4 separate regions of the Homo sapiens genome follow, and regions 2, 3 and 4 are each linked to region 1. The links are contacts of gene promoters, found by promoter capture Hi-C in blood cells and fetal thymus (Javierre and others, 2016). All regions are on one chromosome and are shown on one strand. The core of a region is centred on a gene start or on the middle of the fragment in contact, and the rest is flanking DNA. Distances in the headings are between cores, read along the strand shown. Region 1 holds the start of EIF4A1 (eukaryotic translation initiation factor 4A1). Region 2 holds the start of TMEM256 (transmembrane protein 256). Region 3 holds the start of DNAH2 (dynein axonemal heavy chain 2). Region 4 holds the start of SPEM1 (spermatid maturation 1).

What was found. Contacts are between HindIII fragments. The CHiCAGO score rates a contact against its expected background, and 5 or more counts as called.
Region 2: a contact is called between the fragment with the promoter of TMEM256 here and the fragment with the promoter of EIF4A1 in region 1, in 13 of 17 cell types (activated CD4 T cells, naive CD8 T cells, total CD4 T cells and 10 more). The highest score is 12.8, in activated CD4 T cells.
Region 3: a contact is called between the fragment with the promoter of DNAH2 here and the fragment with the promoter of EIF4A1 in region 1, in 1 of 17 cell types (activated CD4 T cells). The highest score is 6.1, in activated CD4 T cells.
Region 4: a contact is called between the fragment with the promoter of SPEM1 here and the fragment with the promoter of EIF4A1 in region 1, in 8 of 17 cell types (naive CD8 T cells, fetal thymus, non-activated CD4 T cells and 5 more). The highest score is 7.5, in naive CD8 T cells.

Annotation. Positions count from the first base shown.
Region 1 is chr17:7,567,176-7,574,137 of GRCh38, forward strand. EIF4A1 (eukaryotic translation initiation factor 4A1) reads left to right here and starts at 5,650. Exons shown (of 11, transcript NM_001416.4): 1 at 5,650-5,689. The coding sequence starts at 5,667. It overlaps SENP3 (SUMO specific peptidase 3), which reads left to right. Exons shown (of 11, transcript NM_015670.6): 8 at 3,181-3,318; 9 at 3,506-3,589; 10 at 3,708-3,758; 11 at 4,198-4,794. The coding sequence ends at 4,308. It overlaps SENP3-EIF4A1 (SENP3-EIF4A1 readthrough (NMD candidate)), which reads left to right. Exons shown (of 22, transcript NR_037926.1): 8 at 3,181-3,318; 9 at 3,506-3,589; 10 at 3,708-3,758; 11 at 4,198-4,304; 12 at 5,109-5,689. RefSeq lists enhancers at 4,988-5,047, 5,078-5,127, 5,148-5,207, 5,328-5,397, 5,904-6,659 and 2 more and silencers at 5,568-5,627, 5,638-5,697, 6,598-6,737. The HindIII fragment of the contact is 10,998 bases long and covers 1-6,962 here.
Region 2 is chr17:7,398,572-7,405,594 of GRCh38, forward strand. It overlaps TMEM256 (transmembrane protein 256), which reads right to left and starts at 5,526. Exons shown (of 4, transcript NM_152766.5): 1 at 5,429-5,526; 2 at 5,087-5,118; 3 at 4,739-4,819; 4 at 4,404-4,638. The coding sequence starts at 5,513. The coding sequence ends at 4,495. It overlaps TMEM256-PLSCR3 (TMEM256-PLSCR3 readthrough (NMD candidate)), which reads right to left and starts at 5,560. Exons shown (of 10, transcript NR_037719.1): 1 at 5,429-5,560; 2 at 5,087-5,118. It also overlaps a transcript of NLGN2 not described here. RefSeq lists an enhancer at 5,335-5,514 and a silencer at 6,005-6,334. The HindIII fragment of the contact is 6,317 bases long and covers 5,234-7,023 here.
Region 3 is chr17:7,715,246-7,722,352 of GRCh38, forward strand. DNAH2 (dynein axonemal heavy chain 2) reads left to right here and starts at 2,499. Exons shown (of 86, transcript NM_020877.5): 1 at 2,499-3,554; 2 at 4,476-4,655. The coding sequence starts at 4,490. The HindIII fragment of the contact is 13,987 bases long and covers 1-5,739 here.
Region 4 is chr17:7,418,349-7,425,260 of GRCh38, forward strand. SPEM1 (spermatid maturation 1) reads left to right here and starts at 1,976. Exons shown (of 3, transcript NM_199339.3): 1 at 1,976-2,180; 2 at 2,279-2,339; 3 at 2,533-3,284. The coding sequence starts at 2,037. The coding sequence ends at 3,257. NLGN2 (neuroligin 2) reads left to right here. Exons shown (of 7, transcript NM_020795.4): 7 at 1-1,512. RefSeq lists an enhancer at 1,460-1,979. The HindIII fragment of the contact is 12,172 bases long and covers 168-6,912 here.

The DNA.
Region 1 (6,962 bases), core at 4,400-6,899:
AAAGTTAAATTGCAGCTAGTGATAAGTGCTGTGGGCAGATCAACACAGAGTAACGTGAGGCTGGGCGCAGTGGCTCACGCCTGTAATCCCCAGCACTTTGGGAGGCCAACACGGGCGGATCACCTGAGGTCAGGAGTTCGAGACTAGCCTGGCCAACATTGAGAAACCCCATCTCTATTAAAAATACAAAAATTAGCCCTGTGTGATGGCAGGTGGCCTGTAAGCCCAGCTATTCCTGGAGGCGGAGGCAGGAGAATCCCATGAACCTGGGAGGCAGAGGTTGCAGTGAGCCGAGACCCCGCCATTGCACTCCAGCCTGGGCAACAAGAGCAAAACTCCGTCTCAAAAAAAAAAAAAAATCACAGTAATGTCATAGCGTGGGAAGTGGGTACTTTAGATTGGGTGATCTAGGAAGGCCTCTCATAGCTGAGACGTGAATGATGAGCAGCCAGCCATGCGCAGACCTGGGAATAGCAAGTACACAAGACCCATAGTGAAAAACCATGGCTGAGGAACAGAGGGCTTGTGGGGGTGACCTGTGTAGTTGGCGCAGAGTGAGCAAAGGGAGATGGATACAAAATTCGGTCAGAGAGTAGATCATGTAAGACATGTACGGTAGGCTGAGGAGGGGGGATTTTATTGCGTGTATACTGAGAAGCCATTGAGTTTTAAGCAGGCTGAGAAGTGCCTTCTGTTTTAAACTCCTGTTTCAATGACAGATTGAAAGGGGGGCAAGAATGGAAGCAGGAACAGAGCACAGTAGTCCAGGTGAGAAACTTGAACTGGAGTGCTAAAGGAAGAGAGAGAGAGTAGTTTTATGTAGGATAAATTTTACGAGTAAAACCAGTAGGACTGACAGGCTCTGTGATACTGAGAGATACATATTTGGTCTCCTGACCAGGCTCCTGGCATTCAACTTCTAAAATCCTTGGAATCTCCAGTGATGTGTGTTTTTGTGTGCTGATGAGTTGATTCATGGCTAGCCCCTCTAGGTGGCTTCATGATTAGAGGGTTGGAACTTTCAGCCTCACCCCCACCAACTTCCTGGGAGGGGAATGGGGCCAAAGGTTAAGGCAATCACTGAGGATCAGTGATTTAATCAGTCATGCCTAGTAGTGAAGCCTCTAAAAACCGGAAAGGGGCCGGGTGCGGCGGCTCACGCCTGTACTCCCGGCACTTTGGGAGGCTGAGGCAGATGGATCGCAAGGTCAAGAGATTGAGACCAGCCTGGCCGACCTGGCGAAACCCTGTCTCTACTAAAAATATGAAAATTAGCTGGGCGTGGTGGCGTGCGCCTGTAGTCCCCGGGAGGCTGAGGCAGGAGAATCGCTTGAACCCGGGAGGCAGAGGTTGCAGTGAGCCGAGATTGTGCCACTGCACTCCACCCTGGGTGACAGAGTGAAACTCTGTCTCAAAAAAGAAAAAAAAACCCGAGAGGAGGAGTTTGGAGACATTCTAGATAGCTGAAGGCATGGAGGCTCCCACAGGATGGTCTCCAGGCCTCTTCCCGGTACCTTTCCCTGTGCATCTTTTCATCTGTACTCTTTGTACTACCCTTTGTTAATAAACTGGTAAATGTGTTTCCATGAGTTCTGTGAGCTGCTCTAGCAAATTAATCAAATTCAAGGAGGGGGTCATGGGAACGCTGATCTAACCAGTTGGTGAGAAACACAGATAAAACAACCTGGGGCTTAGGACTGGCATCAGAATTGGGGGCAGCCTTGTGAGACTGAGCCCTAAACCTGTGACACATTATCTCCAGGTAGATAGTGTTGGAATTGAATTGGGGGATACCCAGCTGTGTCCACCGCAAAATTGCTTGCTTGGTTGTTGGTGGAGAGAAAGCCCCACAAACACTTCTTGGTGACCACAGGTTACAGAAGTATTTTGTGTTGTGAGAGTATAGTAGGAAAGAAGATTTGTTTTTTTGCCGGGCGCGGTGGCTCACGCCTGTAATCCCAGCCCTTTGGGAGGCTGAGGCGGGCGGATCACCAGGTCAGGAGATCAAGACCATCCTGGCTAACACAGTGAAACCCTGTCTCTACTAAAAATACAAAAAATTAGCCGGGCGAGGTGGCACGTGTCTGTAGTCCAAGCTACTTGGGAGGCTGAGGCAGGAGAATGGCATGAACCCAGGAGGTGGAGCTTGCAGTGAGGCAAGATCACGCCACTGCACTCCAGTCTGGGCAACAGAGCAAGACTCCGTCTCAAAAAAAAAAAAAAGATTTGTTTTTTCCTCCGCAGGTTGGATGTGGGAAATGAAGAAAAAGAAATGGAGGATGATGCCTAGGTTTTTGGCCTATGTAACGGGAAAAGTGGGAGAGGAACAGGTTGGGGGAGGAAAATGAAGAGTTCTTTTCTCTTCTGGTTTCCCTGCCCTCCCATTCAAAGGCCAGGAAATTTCTACAGCTAGGCAGGATGATTGGCTCCGGCATTCCTTAATTTCAGTCCTCAAAATCAAGAGCTTACACCCTCAGGGATCTTCTTGCAGTAGAGGGAAGGGTGGTGACGTACAGTGAAAAACATGTTGGCCTTCTTCATACTGAGTTTGAGTCCCACTTCTGCCATTTCTTTCTTTCATGACCTTGTGCAAGTCACGACTTTCCAAGCTGCAATTTCCTCATCTGTTAGGTTGAATGTTGAGAACTTCCCGGTAGGATTGTTATGAGCATTAACTGCGTGTTTACTTTGTGCTGTGTCTTGTTCTAAGTGTATTATGGATAGTCACTAGTTTAATCCTCATATCAAATGGATGAGGTGTAGGTACTACTATTTACACTCTCTGACAGATAAGGAAACTGAGGTATAGAAGGTTATTAAGTAGGTTGCCCACTGTCATAAGCCAGTAAATGGAGGAGCTGTATTTGAATTCTGGCAGGCTCCAGAATCCTGGGCCTGGGTTCTTAGCTGCTAAGTGCTTCTCCCTTTAAAGTGTGAAAAGCGCCTGCCCATCATGGGTTCTCCAGTGTTCGTTCTGATGTCTCCTCCATTGTCTGACCTTCCTCCCTTACCCCGAAGAACCGAAACATGCAGATCCTGAGCTTGCCCACAATCTAGGCCTTGGGTCTTCTGTTCTTTCACTTGGTTCCCTTACCTGTGTCTCTGTTCCTCTCTAGAACCTTCATGGCAAAAGGCAAGACTTCTGTTTGTTGTACCTGACCTGTGGCACTATCTCTTTAGGTGGACATCTTCAATAAGGAGCTACTGCTAATCCCCATCCACCTGGAGGTGCATTGGTCCCTCATCTCTGTTGATGTGAGGCGACGCACCATCACCTATTTTGACTCGCAGCGTACCCTAAACCGCCGCTGCCCTAAGGTTTGAGGGGGTAGGAGAGAGATGGGCAAAATGTGGGGCGGTGCAGTGGCAAGGCATTGCAGGAAGAAGGGTGGGCTTTGGGTCTTTGAGGGGCGACCTGGGCATGGTGTCTGCCAGCACTGTACCCACCATACTGTGTTCAATTGAGAAACTTAGGGCATCACTTTCTTTTCCCCCATCCACATAGCATATTGCCAAGTATCTACAGGCAGAGGCGGTAAAGAAAGACCGACTGGATTTCCACCAGGGCTGGAAAGGTTACTTCAAAATGGTGAGTTTCCTGAGGGAGGGGTATAGGGTGTTGGTGGGGACAGTGGTAGAAGGCAGAAATTGAAGTCCTACCCCTGGGAGTCTCCATGTGAAGGGCCTGCTTTCTTTCTCTTCTCTAGAATGTGGCCAGGCAGAATAATGACAGTGACTGTGGTGCTTTTGTGTTGCAGGTAAGCAGATGATGGGGCCACCTCCCCTAGCTCTGAAGTCAGTTGGGTTAAAGGGTCGGGAGGCTGTTATGCATCCCCTCATTTGGCTCATAGTCAGTTGTGGAGCAGGAAGTAATCTGTTTTAGAACACCAAAACACTGGCTTCACTGGTTCTCTTCTGGACTTCTCCATCCCACATTGGGACTGGGTCTCTAGTCTTGGGCCTCTGGCCTTCATAGAGCTCCCTGCTAACCTCCAACTCAGTGTATTTTCTCCATCTAAAACATTCTATCAAGTAAGAACACTAGCTTTAGAGTCAGGCTGTTTTTGAACCCCAGGCTGTGGGACCCTGGCTCCCTTTGGGGATGTTCTCTGAAGGATGGAGACACATCTCATATGAAATGTGTAGCACAGGTCCTGACACGGGGGGTTTCTCATGGCTTGCTTTGTTAACACCCAGTACTGCAAGCATCTGGCCCTGTCTCAGCCATTCAGCTTCACCCAGCAGGACATGCCCAAACTTCGTCGGCAGATCTACAAGGAGCTGTGTCACTGCAAACTCACTGTGTGAGCCTCGTACCCCAGACCCCAAGCCCATAAATGGGAAGGGAGACATGGGAGTCCCTTCCCAAGAAACTCCAGTTCCTTTCCTCTCTTGCCTCTTCCCACTCACTTCCCTTTGGTTTTTCATATTTAAATGTTTCAATTTCTGTATTTTTTTTTCTTTGAGAGAATACTTGTTGATTTCTGATGTGCAGGGGGTGGCTACAGAAAAGCCCCTTTCTTCCTCTGTTTGCAGGGGAGTGTGGCCCTGTGGCCTGGGTGGAGCAGTCATCCTCCCCCTTCCCCGTGCAGGGAGCAGGAAATCAGTGCTGGGGGTGGTGGGCGGACAATAGGATCACTGCCTGCCAGATCTTCAAACTTTTATATATATATATATATATATATATATATATATATATATATATATATATATATATATATATATATATATATAAAAATATATAAATGCCACGGTCCTGCTCTGGTCAATAAAGGATCCTTTGTTGATACGTAAGTGGTGGTCTTCCTTAAGGGGCTTCAAATTAGTGGATATGCTTAGCTCAGACCTTCCAGCCAGTCTCTTGAGACTAAAGGGTTCAGCTTTCCATCCCTGGCTCAGGCACTGCCAACACCTTGTCTTCACCCAAACAAATCCCCGAGATGGGAGCAGAGAGCAGGAAGGAGGGAAAGTAGATAAGCCTCAAGAATAAGGGCATCCGAGAGGGAAGCTGGGGAACTGGACACAAGGGACTGGGGAGGGGACCAACCAGGATTCATGATAGTACCCCAAAGCCCTTTACAGTTTTCTTCCATCCCTCCACCATCCAGCCAGGGGAATCCTCCCATCCCTACGATATCGCTGTTGATTCCTTCATCCCTGGCACACGTCCAGGCAGTGTCGAATCCATCTCTGCTACAGGGGAAAACAAATAACATTTGAGTCCAGTGGAGACCGGGAGCAGAAGTAAAGGGAAGTGATAACCCCCAGAGCCCGGAAGCCTCTGGAGGCTGAGACCTCGCCCCCCTTGCGTGATAGGGCCTACGGAGCCACATGACCAAGGCACTGTCGCCTCCGCACGTGTGAGAGTGCAGGGCCCCAAGATGGCTGCCAGGCCTCGAGGCCTGACTCTTCTATGTCACTTCCGTACCGGCGAGAAAGGCGGGCCCTCCAGCCAATGAGGCTGCGGGGCGGGCCTTCACCTTGATAGGCACTCGAGTTATCCAATGGTGCCTGCGGGCCGGAGCGACTAGGAACTAACGTCATGCCGAGTTGCTGAGCGCCGGCAGGCGGGGCCGGGGCGGCCAAACCAATGCGATGGCCGGGGCGGAGTCGGGCGCTCTATAAGTTGTCGATAGGCGGGCACTCCGCCCTAGTTTCTAAGGATCATGTCTGCGAGCCAGGATTCCCGGTAAGAAAGGCATTTGCAAGAGATTGTGGCTGCTTATTTTGCCGCCCCCTTCCGACGGGCCCGCCGGGGGTAGCTGAGAGGCCCACCAGGGTTGCGGGAGAAACCGAACCGGGTGGGGGGAGGGTCCGACTTGGAGGGGCGAGGGGGAAGACCCACGGCCGACGCGGCCACCAGGTCGAGGCGGAGGGTAGGGACAGCCCGGCTAGGGTCAGGCGTGCGAGGTCTGTTACGAGGCCTCGACCCGAGGCGGTGCCATGCGCGAAGCCCCGGCGCTGAGTGGCGAGACGGGGTCGCGACCTGGCGTGGGAAAGAAAGGTGGAGGCGGCCGCCACTATGTGTGGCCCAGAGCCGGCAGGTCCGGTTGCCTCCCTGTGCCGGGGGAGGGACGGCGCGCGGGGTTCCGGAGCATTCTGACGGTACCACTCGCGAGAGGCGGGGGTGCCTGGTCCTTAGATCCAGTCACTTCGTCGCGGCTAAAACACGGGTCGGGGAGAAGAAACCGGCCGTTCAGTGTGCTGGTTTTCTTGACGGCCAGGACTGAGCCTAACCCCGAGGAGCGGCCGCGTGAGGCACCAGGAGCCCACCCGGCGCCGGGCGGGCGGGTCCATTTTGCCGCACAAGCCGGGCTATTGGCAAACTGCGGATGGGCAGGTCCACCTTCCTTCGGGGGTGAGCGGCCTGAGGTATGGGAGGGCGACGCTACTTCGCGACGGGGGCGGGCGGGATGTGGATTGTTCATGGAGGGGTGGGAGACGCCGCCGGGTGGTCGAGGGAGCGAGCACATGGTGGCCTGAGGCGTTCCCCTCCCCCAGTCTGCTTCGCTTCTAAGTGTTGTGCAATCTCCCCCTTTGCTAGCTCGGCTTGGGCTCATTGTGCGCGAGGCCGCCACCGCCCGCGGCCTCCCACATCCGGGCAACGCGAGGGGGGGGCTTCGGCTGGAGGGAGTGGGGGAGGGCGCGGGCGGGATGACGTGGGGGGAAGGGGATGTCCTACCCTCCGATCTGGGAGGTGAAGGGCGGGACTTCCAGCGCGCTGGTGCTGCGGTGGGAGGTGCACGCGCTTGGGCTTTAAGCGGCTGGGTCGGGCCCACGTGGACCCGGCGGCAAGCACCACCTCTGGGCACCGTGAGCGCGGCGGCACGCCTGCCGGCCTGTCTTCAGAAAGGGTCACCCCCTTATGTCGGGGGTGGCCTGGCCTGAGCCGCTGCCTGCATGGGGCAAATGCCTCAGTTTTATAGAAACTCCTCCTTTGGGTATTTTTTGGGAGCTGGTGG
Region 2 (7,023 bases), core at 4,276-6,775, 170 kb before region 1:
TCAAAATCTTGAGGCAGAAGAAAATGTGGTGGGTTGGCAATGTGGATGCCATGTAGTGACAAAGAATCACAAAGCCCGGATGGCCAGTGCAGGCCTTGGAGACAGTGGTATGGCACTTGGAATCTATTTGCAGTGCAGTAGTAAGTAAGTCATTGAAAAGTTTAAGTCACTCTTTTTTTTTTTTTTGAGATGGGGTCTTGCTGTGTTGCCCAGGCTGGAGTATAGTGGCTATTCACAGGCTTGATCTTAGCACACTAGTCTCAAACTCCTAACCTCAAGCAATCCTTCTGCCTCAGCCTCCTGAGTAGGTGAGACTATAGGCACACACCACCGCACCCAGCTATCATCATTTTTAATTTCTATTTTTGTGTATGCTTTATATAGTACAATCTGTATAATATATTGAAGGCATACTTAATTTTTCTGAAGGTATGCATTTTTTTCTTTTTTGAGACAGGTCTTGCTCTGTTGCCCAGGCTGGAGAGCAGTGACACGATCTTGGCTCACTGCAACCTCCGCCTCCTGGGTTCAAGCGATCCTCGTGCCTCAGACACCCAAGTAGTTGGGATTACAAGCACCATGCACCACCACGCCAGCTAATTTGTGTATTTTTAGTAGAGACGGCATTTCACCATGTTGGCCAGGCTCGTCTCGAACTCCTGGACTCATGTTATCCACCTGCCTCAGCCTCCCAGGATTACAGGTGCTGGGACTACAGGCGTGAGCTGCTGCGACTGGCCTGAAGGTATGCTTTTTTTTTTTTTTTTTTTTTTTTTTTTTGAGACAGAGTCTTACTCTGTCGCCTGGGCTGGAGTGGTGCAATGACATGATCTTGGCTCACTGCAACCTCCGCCTCCTGGGTTCAAGCGATTCTCCTGCCTCAGCCTCCCGAGTAGCTGGGATTACAGGCACCCACCACTACGCCCAGCTAATTTTTTAAATTTTTAGTAGAGACAGGGTTTCACCATGTTGCCCAGCCTGGTCTCAAACTCCTGACCTCTTGATTTGCATGCCTCAGCCTCCCAAAGTGCTGGGATTACAGGTGTGAGCCACTGTGCCCTGCCGGTATGCATTTTTAAAAGTGTGCAGATTTTTTCTCTAATGAGAAGATTTTAGGTAATTTCATCTCATTCCGTATCTCTAGTTACAATCTGCATGCTTTTAATTGCAGAATTTCTATCACCAACACTAGTCTCTACTGAGCTCCCGACTCCTGTAACAGCAGCTTTCCAGGCTTCCCTGAAGCAAGAGAGTGTGTTAGAGACCTGAAGGAATTCCTAGGGGCTGGCCTGAGGATTGTGAGAAGGATGACAGGGCCAAATGGTGGAGGGCCTTGTGCGGAGATGTTGTACTGTCTTCTGAGGGCAAAGGGGAGCCAATGAAGCATGTATATCCAGGGAGATGGCATAATTTGAGGTACACTCGTAGATCACAATATTTCTTCATTTTAAAGATGAGTCAGAGGCCAGGCACAGTGGCTCATGTCTGTAATCCCAGCACTTTGGGAGGCCGAGGCGGGCGGATCACCTGAGGTCGCGAGTTTGAGATTAGCCTGACCAGCATGAAGAAACCCTGTCTCTACTAAAAATACAAAATTTGCCGGGCATGGTGGCGCATGCCTGTAATTCCAGCTACTTGGGAGGCTGATTCAGGAAAATTGCTCGAACCCAGGAGGCGGACATTGTAGTGAGCCGAGATCGCACCATTGCACTCCAGCCTGGGCAACCAGCGAAACTCTGACTCAAAAAAAAAAAAAAAAAAAAAAAAGATGAGTCAGGAACCAGACATGTGTTCCTCCAAACTCAGCCTCCCGAGTAGCTGGGCCTGCAGGCTACAGGCACAAGCCACTACACCTGGCTATTTTTTTTTTTTTTTTTTTTTGAGACGGAGTCTGGCTCTGTCGCCCAGGCTGGAGTGCAGTGGCGCCATCGCGGCTCACTGCAAGCTCCGCCTCCCGGGTTCACGCCATTCTCCTGCCTCAGCCTCCCGAGTAGCTGGGACCACAGGTTCCCACCACCATGCCCGGCTAATTTTTTTGTATTTTTAGTAGAGACAGGGGTTTCACTGTGTTAGCCAGGATGGTCTCGATCTCCTGACCTCGTGATCCACCCGCCTCAGCCTCCCAAAGTGCTGGGATTACAGGCATGAGCCACCGCACCTGGCCATGGCTATTTATTTTTATTTTTATTTTTATTTATTCATTTATTTATTTTTTGAGACGGAGTCTCGCTCTGTCGCCCAGGCTGGAGTGCAGTGGCACTATCTCGGCTCACTGCAAGCTCCGCCTCCTGGGTTCATGCCATTCTCCTGCCTCAGCCTCATGCCATTCTCCTGCCTCAGCCTCCCGAGTAGCTGGGACTACAGGCGCCCGGCACCACGCCCAGCTAATTTTTTTTTGTATTTTCAGGAGAGACGGGGTTTCACCGTGTTAGCCAGGATAGTGTCGATCTCCTGACCTTGTGATCCGCCCACCTCGGCCTCCCAAAGTGCTAGGATTACAGGCGTGAGCCACCACGCCTCGCTATTTTTTTATTTTTGTAAAGACAGGGGTCTCCCTGTGTTATCCAGGCTGGTCTCGAACTCCTGGGCTCGAGCAATGTTCCCACGTCCGCCTTCCAAAATGTTGGGATCACAGGCTTGAGCCATCGCACAGGGTCCTCTCTGTTCCTTTCCTTTCAGCATGCAGCACAATTTGTAATGATACATGTTTTGCAAATTTTATAAATGTTTAGTTATTTCAGGTCCATTTCCACTACTAGATGGGAAACTCCTTGAGGGAGGGGATATCTGTCTCCCTCAGGGTTGATCTTCCTTGTAACGTGTCTGACGCATGATCAACACTGGTTTAATAAATACTGTGCCTGCCAGGAGCAGTGGCTCACACCTGTAATGCCAGCACTTTGGAAGGCTGAGGCAGGTGGATCACTTGAGGTCGGGAGTTTGAGACCAGCCTGGCCAACATGGCAAAACCCCGTCTCTACTAAAAATACAAAAATTAGCCGGGCGCGGTTGCGGGCGCCTGTAATCCCAGCTACTCGGGAGGCTGAGGCAGGAGAATCACTTGAACCCGGGAGGCGGAGGTTGCAGTGAGCTGAGATCGTGCCACTGCACTCCTGCCTGGGTAACAGGGCAAGACTGCGTCACAATAAATAAATACTGTCCCCACTAAATATCTTCCAGTTCTCTACATGCTGTGACTGCCACTCCAGCCTGTCCTGCCACCTTTTCTCACTCCTTTCCTACCTAACTCAAACTCAGCCCACATTGAAGACTCCTGCTTCTCCAAACCCCTCCCCTCTCCATCTTGTTCTTTGTTCATTGTTTCTTCCATACAATAGAGCTCCTTTAAGGATCATCTCAAGCATTGTGACACATTTTCTGATCCCCAATACATGATCTGTCCCTGCTTTGAACCCCAAAGTATTTTGTAACTAATGACACTCCTATCCTGCCTTGCCTTAATCCTCACTTCTAGAGTAAGTGGGTGCTGATAACAACAGGGCTGAAAACCATGACCCTATAGTAATTTTTTAAAATCCCAGTACTTTGGGAGGCTGAGGCGGGTGAATTGCTTGAGGTCAGGAGTTCAAGACCAGCTTCGCCAATATGGTGAAACCCCATCTCTACTAAAAATACAAAAATTAGCCAGGCATGGTGGCATGCACCTATAATCTCAGCTACTTGGGAGGCTGAGGCAGGAGAATCACTTGAACTCAGGAGGTGGAGGTTGCAGTGAACCAAAATCGCACCACTGCACTCCAGCCTGGGCAACAGAGTGAAACTCTGTCTCAAAAAAATAAAAATAAAAATAAAAACAGGCCGGGCGTGGTGGCTCATACCTGTAATCACAGCACTTTGGGAGGCCAAGGCAGGCGGATCACCTGAGGTCGGGAGTTCAAAACCAGCCTTGCCAACATGGCACAACCCCGTGTCTACTAAAAATACAAAAAATTAGTTGGGCATGGTGGCAGGCGCCTGTAATCCCAGCTATTCAGGAGGCCGAGGCAGGAGAATCGCTTGAACCTGGGAGGCAGAGGTTGCAGTGAGCCGAGGTCGCGCCACTGTATTCCAGCCTGGGCGACAGAGCAAGACTCCATCTCAAAATAATAATAATAATAATAATAAAATTAAAAACCTAGTATGCATCAGAACCACAAGATGAGCTTATTAAAATACAGATTCTCAGGCCCGAAAGAGTGCTTCAGTAGGAATCTGTGTTATTTCAAGCATTCTTTATGACTTTGATGCCCACCAGGGTAAGAACATTATAATAAGTTAACTTAAAGTGACCAGAATCCCCAGACCTAAGGCTCACTGATTAAGTCTTAGGAAATGGAGGGAGTTCAGAGGTTGAATCCCCACCCTTCGTCCTCCAAGAGGTTAGATGAACAAAGACTCCAAAGTTTATTTGCCTTTCCTTTTTAATCCTCTTCTTACTCCAACTCTTTAAAAAAAAAACTGCCCAGAAAACCCAGTAATTAAGCAAAAGGGAGCTCAAAGAGCCAAGGCAAGCCAGCCCAAGAGTAGCAGGGTCCCTCCCGCAGGGGCCAAAGTCTGGATGCTGGGGTCTCCACTCAGAGCCTGGTAGTAAAAGCTGGTGCAGAATAAGGTCGTTCCGGAAGCTAGCAATAACCCAGCCTGAAGGAGACACAGCACAGAAAACAGGATTGTTAAGAACAGGGCAGGCTGAGAGGGAGTGTGTGGGGCTTGGTCAGGGTTAGGCGCAGGGAAAGATTACCCAGAGTGGCTTTCTGCAATGGGGCACCCCTAACAGGGCCAGGCTGTGTAAGAAGTGGTGTTTGTTGGCCTTGTCAAACAGCTGTAAGAAAAACAGAAACGAAGGGATGTCGTAGGCAATACAGGTACTGAGATCCCCTGATGACACAAGGGACCAAAGTTCCTTCCCCCACCCCACCCTTGAAGTCCCAGCTTGATCCCAGGCCTTTGGCTTACAGAGCCTTTGGCCTTTGCTGCTCCAGAGATCCGCGGCTCGCCCCACCCTCTCCCCGCCCACTTCCCCCAGGGACCCCAGACTTTGTGCCTTCGTAGACCCACGAGTCAGGGAGCCCCAGCGCAGTTACTTCACCTCCTTCCCGTAGGCATCTGGGAATTGGGCGCCTGTGGAGAAAAGAAGCAAAGGTTAGCGGTCCTAGTGCCAGCCCTGACCGCCCCCAATCCGGGGGGACCCAGGTGGACATTGGCGAGAAAGGGCACCCCCCCCCCCGCCCCAGGAAGCTTCCGATTGGTGGGAACACGCTCGGGCAGTACTGGGAACCAATTGGACCCAGCTGGGGGACTTTAAAAGGTTTAGGGCTCCGCGGACTGTCTGATAAACGAGAGGCCGGGCACCTCCCATAGGTTACGCCCTTGCAGCAGACCCCAGAGGACGCCCCAAGTACAGTCCCATCTTCGTCCCCAGCCCCCTGACCGTGCGCCCCGTAGGAAGCGAAGCCTAAGGCCGCAGCTCCGGACAAGGCGCCCAAGCGGCGGAAAGCTGCAGCTGGCCCGGCCATAGCTGTAGAACAGGACGCACCGGACCAACGCCGCCCAGGCCACCCAAGAGGCCAGCCAATCCCGACCGCCCATGCAAATAAGGTTCACAGGCGCCCAATCCGGGCCGTGTTCATTTCAGCATTGCGCTCTTCACCCGCCTTTGTAAAACCGCTGCAGAGTGGCGAAGACGTCTGGCGGGCGGAGAAACCAGCACCAATTAGGAACAGAGGAGCTAAGCAGTGGGGGGGCGGGGTTGAGGGCGGGACTAGGGGGATTTGCGTCAAGGATTGGCCCACTTTCCAAGTTGATCGCCTCTTCGAACCCCCCACCCCCATGCTCCGGCCAATTTCCAAAGATCCCGGTCTTCTCTCAAAGTTCCGCCCCTTTTTCCACAGGCTCCTCCTGTTCAGCTTCAAATCAAACCCACTACCAAAAAGAGGCGGCCCGAAAGATAGCAAAGCCCCACCTATTGCCAGTAAACCCCGCCCACTGCACAAATGGCCCCTCCCCCATGTCTGAAGGCTCCGCCTTCTTTGTATGATGCCCCGCCCCCTGTAGTTAAGATATTCTCCCCCCCGCCAGCCCTCCGAGACCGCGAGAGCCCCGAGGGTGGGAGATCCGGGGGAATGTCTCCACCCTGCCCTGGCCCGCTACGTCCATCTGTCCGTCTGTCCGCTCCCGCCTCTTCCCACCATCTCCAATCCCCCCATTCTCCGGAGGGCGGGCGGGCAGGCGGGTGCGAGCGGGGGGTGCGAGCGGGGGGTGTGCGCCGCTCTCTCGGCAGGGGGCGGGGGAGGCGGCCGCGCGGTGACGCGCGGGGCTGCTGCGGCTGCTCCGCCGGCGGATCATCACTCTCGGGCTGGGATGGACGCGGGGCGGGCCGGCCCTGGCGCGCGGAGCCAGGAGTCCGGGCCTCCCGGCTGCTGAGCGTCCCTCGAAGCCTCCCCTCACCCCCGCCTTCCCTCCTAGGATCCGCGCTGACCCCCGCCCCGGGGCTCTGGACTCGGCTCCCGCCCTCCTCTGACTCCCCGGACCTCCCCCTCACGCCCGCCCTCGGGATCGACTAGATCCCTCCCCCTCCCCGAGGATTCCGGCTGGATCCCTGCCCCTGCACCGCGGATCCTGCGCTCCCGGGCCCCGGGCCCCTGGGGATTAACGTGGACTCCTCCTCCAGCACCCGATCCTTAGGATCCTCCGCCTGGACCGCCTTCTGGTCCCTCGAAGCCGGCCCACGGAACCAGCGGATCCTCAATCTAGTCCTGTCCCGTTGCCCCCTCCTTTCTCTATCGTCCCTACTGCGGGGTTCCCTGTTCTCGGGCTCCCCCTGATCCCATCCCCTAGCTCTCCTTTTCCCGGGGATCGACTGGATCCCGGCCCCGCCCCCCGGGGCTGGGGCGATCCCCCTCCCCCGCCGGGTGAGGCGCTGCGGGCGGGGGCTGGGCCTGCGGGGCCGCGGGGGCTCAGAGGCCGCCGCCCCCTCCCGAAGGCCTTTCGCCCCCCACTCGGAGCCCTGGATGGAGGCACCACGGC
Region 3 (7,107 bases), core at 1,249-3,748, 140 kb after region 1:
ACCTGTGGGGGGCTGCTGGGGGAGAAGGATGAGTCAGGCTGTAGAGTAATCTACTCTGGTTCTCACGGGACCAGCCCAGGGCACAGCCGGCAGGGAGGCTGCTGGCATAGAGGCCCTGTCTCCCCTGGCCTCTGTCTCTGATGAATGATCCGGACAGCAGGCCGAGACCCTGACCCCTGGAATGGACCTCTCTTTCCACCTTCTCCTAGCCCCCAGTCCTCATCCCCTGCTTCCAGCCAAGATCCAGAGGTCTGGCCCCCAGCTCACCCCAAATCTGCTGTTCCCCACTAGGGACTGGGGTCTCTAGACCTTAGCCTCTGGCTCCCTTTCCCCCTCCTCAGCCTTTGCTCCCCTCCGGGACCCAGGCGTCCTGCCCACTCCCTTCACCATAACAACCATTCTTTTGGAGTTGCTTAAGACTTTAATATCATTTCATTAAGTCAGCAAGTTCAGAGAAGGTTGGGGGCACAAAGAGACTGGGGGTGGGCAAAAGAGGGCCAAAGTAGGGGGGAGGCAAGGAAAGATCCCCCACCCCCCTCTCCGTGGAGATGGCTCTGAGAAATCAAATATTGACAATGAGGGAACAGAACTTATTAAATCTGGGACAGGGATGTGTGTGGGGAGCTGTGGGAATGGCCGGATGCCTGGGTTCGGAGGGTAATGAAGGTTCTGGGAGGAGGAAAAGGGCCGTGGCTGGGAGGTGCAGCAAGGCTGAGGCTCGAGGTCACAACTCTTCTGCCCTTTCCTTTGGGATGTACACGGTCTTGCAACCCTGGCTGTTTCTCTAGCCCCGAAGAGCCCCTGGGGAAAAGACCCCCATCATAGCTAGCTGTGGTTGCCCCGCCTTCGTCCCTTCCCCCTACCTCCACCTCTGTTGATGAGCTTCAGCAGCGTTTAATCGGATTGAGCAGTAATTAGCAAAGCGAGATGTTTGATTACCTATTTAGCATAATGTGGGGGGCTGGGATCCGTAGGCACAGCCACAGTTGGGGAGGGGGGTTTAAGAAAAGAAATGGGGTCTGTGCAAAGTTCCTTTCCCCGAGGGACCCATGAACCTTGCCCCTGAGGCTCCCCACCCCACGCCTCCAGCAAATTTTCACTCCTTTGGGACTTTTCCCTAGGGGTTCTGGCCAACCACATCACCTCTGTCTGCCACCCATGGCCTATCTGGCTAGAGGAACACCTCCACGTTCCATCTTAGCTGTGCTAGCTGTGCAGCTGGTTTTGGGGTGGGCGGTACTCCTCTCCTTCCATTCCTGCTGTCAGCAACAGGAGTCTGGCTGGGCAGGAGGAATTATTGGGGGTCGGGGGGAGGGAAAGGGTTGACACTTCTGGGAATAAAGATACGGTAGGTGGGAGGGTGAGGTCAGCGCTGGGATAGGGTGTGGTTAATCCACTTGCTCTTCAGGAGTACCAGGGACTGCCACTCCTGGTAGTGCCAGGCTGGCATAATGAGATCTGTTAGGTGTGAACGCCAAACAGAAAATGGGGGAACTGAGGTGCCAGCTTCTCTTCTCCTCATCCAGCAAAGAAAATGTCATAAATTTCGCTCCTCATGGAAATGTAATCAGTGGGCTCGCTGCTGGCTTTGTCTTAATTAGGCACTATTGATGGAAACAGGGAGGGCGCCTTCCCATCCCCCCACTCGGCTTCCTCCCTGTATTTCCCAGGTCTCCCCAAAGCTCCTCCCGGCACCAGGTACAGCGGTCTTCCAGGCGCCTTCTAGCAGCCCCGGCCCGCAGCGCCCCCTGGCACCCTCGGAGATGTACCCCGGCCCTCATAGCCCTCCCCTCTCGCCTCCTCTCTCACGACGCAGCCTTTGTTCCTATGGAGAGCGAAGCCCCTCCCAGGCCCGGTCACCTTCCCCAGGGAGTCCCCGCCTCTCATCCCCCCCAAAAACCAGCGATGCCTTCGAAAGCCAATCCTCAGATTCCCAAAACTCCAGTTCCCGTCTTCCCTCCCTTTCCCCGCCCCGCGCCGCCCCCCCGCAATCCTAGACCCCAATCCGAACTAAGAAGGGGGAAGGAGCAGGAGGGCAAGGGTGCTCCAGGCCCGGTTTTTCCCCCGGATCCAGCTGCACCCACGGCTGCCTGGAAATCCTGGAACGCCTTCTACATCGCGAATATCCCTCGCCGGCCTGGCGCCCGGCGCCATCTGCTGGACCCGTTCCGGCTGGGGCGCACAGACCTGGGCGCGGGGTCGGGCGATTGGGTTCTCCCTGCCTTTTCAATGTCCTGCGGGGCGGTGGCTCACTGTCTCTCGCCCCAGCCCTTCCAGCTGGGTCCTGACACCAGGCCCCCCGCACCCTTCGGCTCGCCAGATGTGGCTACTTTCCTTTAGTCCCGGAGCCTTCAAGCCCTGGGTCCCTGAGGGGTAGACCTGGGCGGGGTGGGGCCGCGAAGCAGGGATCCAGGGCGCCTGCGCGGAGGAGGCGGGCTCCGAGGGGCCGCACACCGGCCACTCGCCCCTCCCTGCCCGGGGTTGCCATGGGGACGCGTGCAGACGCCGGCCCGAGAGGGCTGCGAGGGGCAACTTCTTAGAGTGGCCCATCGGTCGGTCTAGGGAGGGGAGGGTCAGCGTGGCAAGGTGTGTGTCGGGGGCAGAGGGAAGGAGGGAAGGAGTGCTGGGGAGAAGGGGCAGTAGTGTCGGGGTAGGAAGGGACAGTTGTTGGGGAGAAGAGGCAGTTGTGGAGGGAGAGGGAGCAAGGAATATTTGTGTGGGGGAGGGGGAGGAGAAGGGGCAGTTGTGACAGCTGGGGGGGAAGAGCCATTCTGAGGGGAAATTTGCCTGCTGGTAACCAGTTTAAGGATACCAGCTGCTGGTATAAATACTGCTGGATAAATACTGCTGGATTTATACTGCAGGATAAATACTGCTGGCCCCTGCGGTATTTCCTAGTACTAGAGTGAGCCCCGACTTAGCAGAGCAGTTCCTCCTGGGGCCTGCGGTGTGGGATCGCGTGGTGAACCCCACGGTGCATGCGCCTCAGGCTCTAGTTTGAGGCAGGAAAGCGCAGCTTGATGCTTCTCTGGAGACTGATGGAGGAAGCCTCCTTGCTGTAGTTGGTTTTATTGATTTGCTGGCCTAACAGAACGTTTTTCCTTGGAGCAAAGTACAAATCCTTCAAGTTTGAAATTCATAACCTGAGATCAATGCCTGTGGCAGCCTGTGGGGATGAGGAAGGAGAGCCACAGGTGCCGTTAGGCTGCAGCCTAATGAAAAGAGAGTGCCCAGCGCCTCAGACTTTGCGCCTGGGATTCTGAGCACCTGTCCGAGATCCCCGCTTCCTGCCATCCTACCTTTCTGAGAGAGGCACCACTGTGACCTTCCTCGTGCCCCAATTGCTTTTTCCTCATGACACAATTTGAAATTTATGATTGGATGACTTTTGTCCTTCTTTCTTCCAATCTGTTCTCAGGGCATTTTGAGTCAAATAAATGATCCTGACTGATCTTAACCATTAGCACAGAGTTCCTCAGCCAACTCTGCTAAGAGACCTCAGTACACACAAAACAGTGTTCCTGCCCCTCAGGACTTCAAAGCGATAGACCCAGGTGGCAAATACTGTTTTTCTCTGTTTACAGATGTTGCAGATTTTAGTGGGATTGGGAGGAGCATATTTCCATTTAACTTGGGAGGAAAAGAGGTACATAGGAAAATCATCTTGGTTTGCTTGAATGATTGAACAGTGACAAAGGATGGGGGATGTGCACCCCTTCCTTGATCCTCTCTCACTCACTCATGGTCCTGGAGGGTAGAGTGGATGAGGGTTTGGGCAACCACACTTCAGCTTGATAGATCTTTTCCTGATTATCTTATGTTCTCATACCCCGGGGCAGAGATAGAGGTTCTAAATCCTCATTAGTGGGGTGTCTGGCCATCTTTTTTTTTTTTTTTTTTGAGATAGAGTCTCACTCTGTCAGCCAGGCTGGAGTATAGTAGCATGATCTTGGCTCACTGCAGCCTCTACCTCTCGGGTTCAAGAGATTCTCCTGCCTCAGCCTCCCGAGTAGCTGGAATTACAGGCACGCACCACCACTCCTGGCTAATTTTTTGTATTTTTAGTAGAGACGGGGTTTTGCCATGTTGGCCAGGCTGGTCTCGAACTCCTGACCTCAGGTGATCCACCCGGCTCGGCCTCCCAAAATGCTGGGATTACAAGCATGAGCCACCGCACCCAGCCTGGCCATCATCTTTAACTCCCATTTGTTCCTAGTGCCTTGAGGGACTGACTTTGATTTTTAGCCCAGTGCCCCGAAGACAGTAGGATATCCTAGGGAAAAACAGCAAGGCCTCCCAGGCCCCTGTGGAGTACAGAGCCCTTGTGGTTAATGGAGCAGGGTGTGGGTACCACCAGAAAAGATGATCATATTGAGTTTCAGTCAATTTATGAATTCAAAAGGGACTGCTTGTATCAGGGGGCTGGTTCAGGGGTGGTATCTGCTTGTAGACTCTCCACTCCTGTATACCTGTAGGTTTTGCCTGCACGATGTCCAGCAAAGCTGAGAAGAAGCAGCGATTGAGTGGCCGAGGAAGCTCCCAGGCAAGCTGGTCAGGGCGGGCCACTCGGGCTGCTGTGGCCACACAGGAGCAGGGGAATGCCCCGGCTGTCAGTGAGCCAGAGCTGCAGGCTGAGCTCCCCAAGGAGGAGCCTGGTGGGTACTTGCTGGGGCAGAGGATGCTTAGCAATGGAGGGTGGGGAAAGTCAGAGGGGCTTGGAGGCATTTTAGGGCTGGGGAGCAGGCGCTGTTGCTTCTGGGCAGGAAACGGGCTAAGTGACGCCCCCAGCCATGGAGGTTCAGCAGCCCTGCCACTGAGTCCTTTTTTTGTATGTCTTCCTCCTGGCCAGCCTCATCCTTGTTCTTTCTGTCTTAAAATTTCCCACAATATACCAGGAGTTCACCAACCAGTCCTTTCTCTAGCCTCTTCCTCCTTATTTCAAGTGTTCCTGGTTGCTCCTACCCCACTGAAGAGGGTTTGATCTCTTCCTTTTTCCCATTTTCACCCTGGGTGGCAAAACAAATAATGTTTTTCTCCCATTAAGCCCATCACCATGGAGACTCAGCCTGTTTTGCCACCCTTTGAATCCAAAGCCCGGCTGATGCTTTCTACCATCTGTTGAGGGCTGTTCTATCTCCGCCCTCATTTTGGCAGGGACTTGGTAGACTGCGGAGGTTCAGGTTCAGGATGACAGGAAAGAAGTCTAGATCTAGGGAGGAAAGAGTTTAACGAGGCAGCCTCTTGTGGCTTTGACCTGAGGGATTCCTTTCCTGTGGGTGAGCCGGAGCCAGTAAGGTTGGAAGGTTTTTGGTAGTTGTTGCTATTGCTGGGATCTCCCTGAGAGCACTGGTCAGTGTAGACAGGACTATGAGCTAAGTGTAGACCTCCTTCTTTACCTGGAGCTCCTTTACACTGATAGTAGCTTGTGAAATAGAATCCCCTTCTAAAATTAAAGGTTGAGAGGTTAAGCGTGGGCATGGGAGAAAAGTCCCTGGGCCATAAGAACTTGCATTAGGTTCCAGGATCTTAGAAATGTGCAGAATGTATCCTTCTGAGTTCTGAAGTGCTCAGGTGAAAGCAGTTAAAATGGGATTGCTCGCTGCTAGGAGGAGTAGGGGAAGATGGGAGGGAAGACAGTGAGGTTCAGTATGGAGAATCCTCTGGGGAGGTAAGGGAAGGAGCTTTAAAATGAATGTGTTGGCCTTCGAACAGCAAGGATTTCTGCCTCTCCCAGCTCCAAGCTTTCTTTTCTTTCTTTCTTTTTTTTTTTTTTTTTTTTTTGAGACAAATTCTCACTCTGTCTCCCAGCCTGGAGTGCATTGGCATAATCTCAGCTCACTGCAACCTCTGCCTCCCGGGCTCAAGTGATTCTTGTGCCTCAGCCTCCCAAGTAGCTGGGATTACAGGCATACACCACCATGCCCAGCTTATTTTTTTTATTTTTTTGAGACAGAGTCTCTCTCAGTTGCCAAGGCTAGAGTGCAGTGGTGCGATCTCAGTTCACTGCAACCTCCACCTCCTGGGTTCAAGCGATTCTCCTGCCTCAGCCTCCTGAGTAGCTGGGATTACAGGCGTGTGCCACCACACCCGGCTAATTTTTGTATTTTTAGTAGAGATGGGGTTTCACCATGTTGCCCAGGCTGGTCTCGAACTCCTGTCCTCGAGTGATCCACCTGCCTCGGCCTCCCAAAGTGCTGGGATTACAGGCGTGAGCCACCGCACCCAGTCTCCCCTGGCCTAGTTCTTGCCTGGAACCTGAATGCCAGCAGTTTTCCCAAGGGAGTTGGATCATCTCACCTACTCACCTACTACTAAGCTCCGGAATCGCCTGTTCCATCTTTTCACGCCTTCCTGCCTCGGCCTCTGTGCCTCATTCCCCTCTTAGTTTTCCTTTCTGGAAGCCAGAGGGAGTTTCCTGTTCCTCATGGTCTTTTGGTTATATCTCATTTGTTCCTTCCTCCTTTCAGCCCCTGGGGAATGGGAAAGCCACCAGTTTTACTCCAATCTCCTGTGTGACTAGTAGATCAGGAGGCAGAGAAACAGAGCCGCTGGGTTTTATGGGAGTCAGAGTGGGTGTGGCAGAACTGAATGCTCAGCAGGCCAGTGGTTTGGAGAAGGGCTGATTCCTATGAGCCCCAACTTCTCCATGTGGGAAGAGGAGTGGGGGAAGATGGAGGGCCAGAAGCTGTATGCCTGGAATAACCTCAGTACTAACCGCCTTCATTCCCTCACCCCTACCCCAGTTAGTGTTTGTTTTATTTTTATTTTTTGGAGACAGAATCTTGCCCTGTCACCCAGGCTGGAGTGCAATGGCGTGATCTCGGCTCACTGCGACCTCTGCCTCCCGGATTCAAGCAATCCTCCTGCCTCAGCCTCCCGAGTAGCTGGAATTACAGGCACCCGCCACCATGCCTGGCTAATTTTTTGTATTTTTATAGAGACGGGGGGGGGGGTTCACCATCTTGGCCAGGCTGGTCTCGAACGCCTGACTTCGGGCGATCCACCAGCCTCAGCCTCCCAAAGTGCTGGGATTACAGGTATGAGCCATCGTGCCCGGCCCCCAGTCAGCTTTTTACATTAAATTGACAGAGAATTCACTGACTCTAA
Region 4 (6,912 bases), core at 726-3,225, 150 kb before region 1:
CTGCCTCCCTTGCCCCTACCCCGGCGAAGCATGTTCCCCCCGACGCCCCCCTTGGCACAAGTCAGATGAAGCACGTTCTGCCGGGGAGGCCCTCACCTTCCAGAGAGGACAGACACAGATTTCCTGCTGGGGGAGGGAGGAGTCCACGCATCCTGATGCTGCCTGGAAGCTTATTTTCCCGTGGCCAGGACGCATTTCTCTGAGTGGAAACAGGTTCTTGCATGTGGATGTGTGTTTCCCCAGGCAGACGGCCCCTCTCTTCCCAGCACTTCCCTGCCTCCCCCAGGCCTCAGGCCCAGCACCCAGTTCCTCCTCACATGGCAGGTGAGCACAGACTTCTAGTTGGCAGGAGCTGAGGAGGGTGAACAAACCCCGAGGGAGGCCCGGCCCTTGCTCCCGAGTTGGGGGGAGGGGGTGTGGCAACGTGCCCCCCGCAGAGGCCACGCATGTTTGACCAAAGCCCTCATTGTGGTCCGAGGACAGCCTTTTCCCCAGGCCTCAGAGCATTGCTCATCCGTGCCAAACTGGGTAGGTGGATTTGAGCGGAAAGACTCCCAAAATGTGCCAAGAATTTCCCAGTCCCAGGCAGGGCAGGGGAAACTAAGGGCAAGCAGGATACAGGGCGAGGGATGTGGCAGGTGAGGGGGCTCCCGCCTGTGCCCCTTCTCCTCACCATGTCTCCCCCACCCTGCCTCAGTTCTCCGTTCCCCTTCATCTCCGTCCCCCTCTTTGAAGCTGTCCCCATCTCAGTGTCAGACCAGCCTTCTCCTCAGCTGACCACCCTCCTCTGACCCACGCCCCCTCCTTGTCTGAAAGAAAGGAGCCTTGAATGGTGGAGGGAGGCAGTGGGGAGAAAGGTCTCACCGGACAGGTTGGGAGAATGAGGTCAGCGGTGCTGGGGAACAGATGGAGGGGGCAGTGGGGACAGGGCTTGGGCAGACACCAGCAGGAATAATTTGAAATGTGTGAGGTGACTCCCCGGAGGGCCTTGGGCTTGGGCATTTGGGAAAAGAATGATGTCTGGAAGGGCTTAAGGGACACAGTGGACGAGGGGAGAGTCCTCATCTGCTGGCATTTTGTGGGGTGTTAGTGCCAAACTTGAATAGGGGCTGGGGTGCTGTCTTCCACTGACACCCAAATCCAGAATCCCTGGTCTTGAGTCCCCAGAACTTTGCCTCTTGACTGTCCCTTCTCTTCCTACCTCCATCCATGGAAAATTAGTTATTTTCTGATCCTTTCCCCTGCCTGGTCTAGCTCCTCTCCAAACAGCCATGCCCTCCAAATGCTAGAGACCTGGGCCCTGAACCCTGTAGACAGATGCCCTCAGAATTGGGGCATGGGAGGGGGGCTGGGGGACCCCATGATTCAGCCACGGACTCCAATGCCCAGCTCCTCTCCCCAAAACAATCCCGACAATCCCTTATCCCTACCCCAACCCTTTGCGGCTCTGTACACATTTTTAAACCTGGCAAAAGATGAAGAGAATATTGTAAATATAAAAGTTTAACTGTTGGTTGTGCCTGCTCTGTTGTGGGGAGGGCGGTCTCTAAAGAAACAAGCCCTGGGGAAGTGACGAGGGAGGAGGGGTCTTTTCAGTGACCAGCTCTGAGGTCTGAGAGGAAGGGGGAGTGTGTGCTGGGGTCTGGTTGCCATGGTAATGGGTCTGTTTGGCAAATGAATGTCAGGACCCGTGTCTATGCCGAGACTGGAGCCTGGTGTCGTTCTATAATGGAAGGACAAAGGCTGATGGGGGCAGATGTCAAACAGGCCAGAGGCCCAGTGGGCTGGTGTAGGCAGCTAGCTCAGCAGAGGTATGTGAGGTGAGAGGCATGGCCTCTGCCAAGGCCTGGACTCAGGCGAGAGGGTCAGCCACGGGTCCAGGACTCAGGGTAGCCCCTTGGCACACTGGAAGGGAGTGGCCTGGCACCATTGTGACCCGTTCACTCCCAAGACCCTCAGGGACAGGCAGGCAGTCAGTGGACACTGTCGGCACGGTGGGCTGGGGGCGTAAGGGCCCCGGTGGTCCTAGGGACCCCATGGCCATGGTTGAGCGGCCGAGGCCCGAGTGGGCCTCGTATCACAACTGCAACAGCAACAGCTGCCAGGACCTGGGCAACTCTGTCCTGTTGCTGCTGGGCCTCATCATCTGCATTAACATTAGCATCAATATAGTGACCCTGGTCAGGGTGGGGCCAGATGGGAGGGAGCTGGTGGGATAGTGGGGGGCAGGCCTGCCGGCCAGGGCCTACCTGGGATCACTGTGTCTTCCCCCACCTAGCTCTGGAGCCGATTCCGTGGTGTCTTATACCAAGTGTTCCATGATACCATTTGTGAGAAAGGTAAGAGGTCTGGGGGCTGGGACATAGGAGGGGCAGAAACCAAGTGCTCTAGCCTCAGCCCTAAATTAGCCCCTTCCCTTCTTGCTCGCCCCTCTCAGACAACATAGCTGTGTGGCTGCCCTTCCTGGGCCCTGCCTCTCCATGCCTGTAGGAGCTGGCCTCCCCACTAGTCTCACCTCTCCCCCATCCACAGAAGCTCCCAAGTCATCATTACTCAGAAAGCAGACCCAGCCCCCTAAGAAGCAGAGTTCTCCTGCAGTCCATCTTCGGTGCACCATGGACCCTGTGATGATGACTGTGTCCCCGCCCCCAGCTCACCGCCATCGCCGTCGAGGCTCTCCCACACGCTGTGCTCACTGCCCAGTAGCTTGGGCTCCTGACACTGATGACGAGAAGCCTCATCAGTACCCAGCCATCTGCTCCTACCACTGGGATGTCCCTGAGGACTGGGAAGGCTTCCAACACACTCAGGGGACCTGGGTTCCCTGGTCTCAGGATGCCCCAGAGTCCCCTCCCCAGACCATCCGCTTCCAGCCTACCGTAGAGGAAAGGCCCCTCAAAACAGGCATATGGTCCGAGCTGGGCCTAAGGGCCTATGTGTATCCTGTGAACCCCCCACCTCCCAGCCCTGAGGCTCCTAGCCACAAGAACGGTGGGGAGGGGGCGGTGCCAGAGGCAGAGGCGGCTCAGTACCAGCCTGTCCCAGCTCCCACCCTGGGCCCAGCAGTCATCCCTGAATTTTCCCGGCACCGCTCCTCAGGCCGAATAGTGTATGATGCCCGGGACATGAGACGGCGGCTTCGGGAACTGACCCGGGAGGTGGAGGCCCTGTCCGGCTGCTACCCCCTAGCCTCTGGATCCAGCACTGCCGAGGAGACAAGCAAGAATTGGGTGTACCGTTCCCTAACTGGGAGGTGACTGGAAAAAAATAAAAAGGAGAGAGGAGGTGATCTGTGGTGGTGCTGGGGTGCCAGGGCCCACACAGCACCTAGAAGCTGTGGCTGTGAAGAGAATGCTCTCCCTAGCCACAGGGCCCTGAGCCCTGAGGACCCTCATTAACCTTTTGCCCCACAGGCCTGTCCCTGTCCTCAGCCTTTCCTAGGCCCTTCTGGGTTCCAAGGCTCTTACCTGCCTCTACCTTGTTTTCAATTTTTTTTTTTTTTTGAGACAGGGTCTTCTCTGTTGCCCGGGCTGGAGTGCAGTGGTGCAATCACAGTTCACTGCAGTCCCAACTGTCTCCCACCTCAGCCTCCTGAGTCACTAGGACTACAGGCATGGGCCACTAGTTTGTTGTTGTTGTTGTTGTTTGTTCGGTTGGTTGGTTTTTGTGTGGGGGGGGTTGTTTTTGTTTTTAAGACAGAGTCCTATTCTTGTCACCCACACTGGACTGCAATGGCACAATCTTGGCTCACTGCAACCTCTGCCTCCCAGGTTCAACCAATTCTCCTGCCTTCAGCCTCCTGAGTAGCTGGGACTACAGGCGTGTGCCACCATGCCCTGCTAATTTTTGTATTTTTAGTGCAGATGGGGTTTTGCCATGTCGGCCAGGCTGGTCTTGAACTCCTGACCTCAGGTGATCCGCCCGCCTCAGCCTCCCAAAGTGCTGGGATAACAGGTGTGAGCCACCCCACCCCAGCCGCACCACTATTTTTTGTAGAGATTGGGTTTCACTACTTTGCCTAGGCTGGTCTCAAACTCCTGGGCTCAATCGATCTGCCTGCCTCAACCTCTGAAAGTTCTGGGATTACAGGTGTGAGCCACTGTGCCCGGACTGTTTCCTCCCCCTCCCCTGAGGCAGGGTCTTGATCTGTCACTCAGGCTGGAGGGCAGTGGTGCAATCATGGCTCACTGGAGACTCAACCTCCTGAGCTCAAGCAGTCTTCCTGCCTCAGCCTCCTGAGTAGCTGGGACAACAGGCACCACCACGCCCAGTTAATTCCTTGTTTTCTTTAGTGCACAGAGAAGCCCCTAAATTCTACCCCAGGTCCCCAGGCAGTCGTGCACTAGAGGAGAGATCTCCATCTCCATGGCCCTAGCTCCTCAGAAGGCTGGTGCCTGCCAGAGCCCAGCGTTAGGCTGCAGCCACCGGTGAGGCCTGGTTCCCACGTAAGCCCTGATTTATTTGGGGAGGGATGGCTGAGAGGGCGTCTAGTCCTTCACAGTTCCCCAGTCACCCTGAAGGTCCTATACCCTTAAGCAGGATTGGAGCAGAGGAGGAAATATTGGGGCCCCCTTGGCTGGGCGCAGTGGCTAACGCCTGTAATCCCAGCACTTTGGGAAGCCGAGGCGGGCGGATCACGAGGTCAGGAGGTCGAGACCTCTTGGCTAACACAGTGACACCCCGTCTCTACTAAAAAATGAAAAATAAAAAATAAAAAAATTAGCTGGGCATGATGGTGGGCGCCTGTAGTCCCAGCTACTTGGGAGGCTGAGGCAGGAGAATGGTGTGAACGTGGGAGGCAGAGGTTGCAGTTAGCCAAGATGGCGCCCCTGCACCCCAGCCTGGGCGACAGAGCGAGACTCCATCAAAAAAAAAAAAAAAGGCCGGGCGTGGTGGCTCACATCTGTAATCCCAGCATTTTGGGAGGCCGAGGCGGGCAGATCACAAGGTCAGGAGATTGAGACCATCCTGGCTAACATGGTGAAACCCCATCTCTACTAAAAATATGAAAACAAAAAATTAGCCGGGCGTGGTGGTGGGCGCCTATAGTCCCAGCTACTTGGGAGGCTGAGGCAGGAGAATGGTGTGAACCCAGGAGGCGGAGCTTGCAGTGAGCCGAGATTGCACCACTACACTCCAGCCTGGGCAACAGAGCGAGACTCCATCTCAAAAAAAAAAAAAAAGAAGAGAAATATTGGGGCCCCCCTCAAGAGGTACCTCACTGTAACATCACAGCTCTCTGTGACCTCACTCCTTTGATTAACTCACCATGTCACCAGTGAGGAGACTAAGTTCAGAGAAGCTAAGGGTCTTGCTCATGGTTACACAGACACTGAGGATCAAGCTCATGGCCTCAGATGCTCCATCCCATTGCTGCAGAGCCAGCCTGACCCACCAGAACCTCCCACCTTCCCCAGTTCACCATGTGAACTCAGAAACTGAGAAACAGAGAAACTCAGGCCCTGCCTTTCTGCTACACAATTGGGATCATATGCACATGCACACACATACCACTTGAGAACAAGCAGCTGTGTGCGTGAGCCCAGGCTGAGGGAGCTGGACTTCACCTTCCACTCTAGACAGATTCCTGGAATGTGAGCAGACGGACCGTTTACAAATGGCCCTACTTCTCTCATTCAACTAACGTTACTGATCATTTTCAATGGATTCCATTCAGTGGAATCTGAATCTACTCTGCATCTACTCTGTGTTTGGAGGCTGGATGGGATATGATCACTGGCCTTTCTTTCTGCTGAGTGGTTCACTGTGTAAACAAATGGCTTGCAGTCTCCAGGGCACCACAGACCCCAGTGATGCACCTGTTTTAAGTCAAACACTCTTTTTGGTATATTAACAATTACATGTATTTTGTGCTTTGTTAATTTCATGTGGTTTTCTTGTTGTTGTTGTTGTTGTTGTTGGGTTGTTTGTTTGTTTTGAGACAGTCTCACTCTGTCACCCAGGCCGGACTTCTGTGGCGCGATCTTGGCTCGCTGCAACCTCCACCTCTCAGGTTCAAGCAATTCTCCTGCCTCAGCCTCCCAAGTAGCTGGGATTACAGGCGCCCACCAACATGCCCAGCTAATTTTTGTGTTTTTAGTAGAGGTTTCGCCATGTTGGCCAGGCTGGTCTCAAACTCCTGACCTCAGGTGGTCCACCTGCCTGGGATTATAGGCGTGAGCCACTGCGCCCAGCAAGTTTCCTTCCTTCCTTCCTTCCTTCCTTCCTTCCTTCCTTCCTTCCTTCCTTCCTTCCTTCCTTCCTTTCTTGTTTTTTTGGAGACAGATTCTCGATGTGTCACCCAAGCTGGAGTACAATGGCGAGAGCTCAGCTTGCTGCAACCTCCACCTCCTGGGTTCAAATGATTCTTCTGCCTCAGCCTCCCGAGTAGCTGGGACTACAGGCGCGCATCACCACACCCAGCTAATTTTTGTATTTTTAATACAGACGGGGTTTCACTATGTTGGCCAGGTTGGAACTCCTGACCTCAGGTGATCCAGCCACCTCAGCCTCCCAAAGTGCTGGGATTATAGGCATGAGCCACCGCGCCCAGCTCGGGTTTTCTTCAGGTAGTAGCTTAACCGTTTTTCACCTTGGAGTAAGGGTGGGTTGGTGGGAGTGTAGGTGGTTAGGTTGGAGAAACCATGGCTGGGGTTGGTTCCCAGCAGAGGCAGCCACCTCAGTGAGTCAGATGTCAGTGTGACGAAGTGGCTGGTGGGCTCAAGGACCACCAACACCTAGGGCTGGAGTCTGGCCAGGAAGAATTGGGCAGAGATGGGAGCTAGAGGACTTTTGACAGGGAAATGGGCAGAGTAGGGAGGGGCTGGTACAGCAGGGTGATGCCTGAGGGGACGCAGTGTCACCCGCCCATCTAGTCACCCTAGATGCTGGCCCCAAAGTAACCATGGGGCA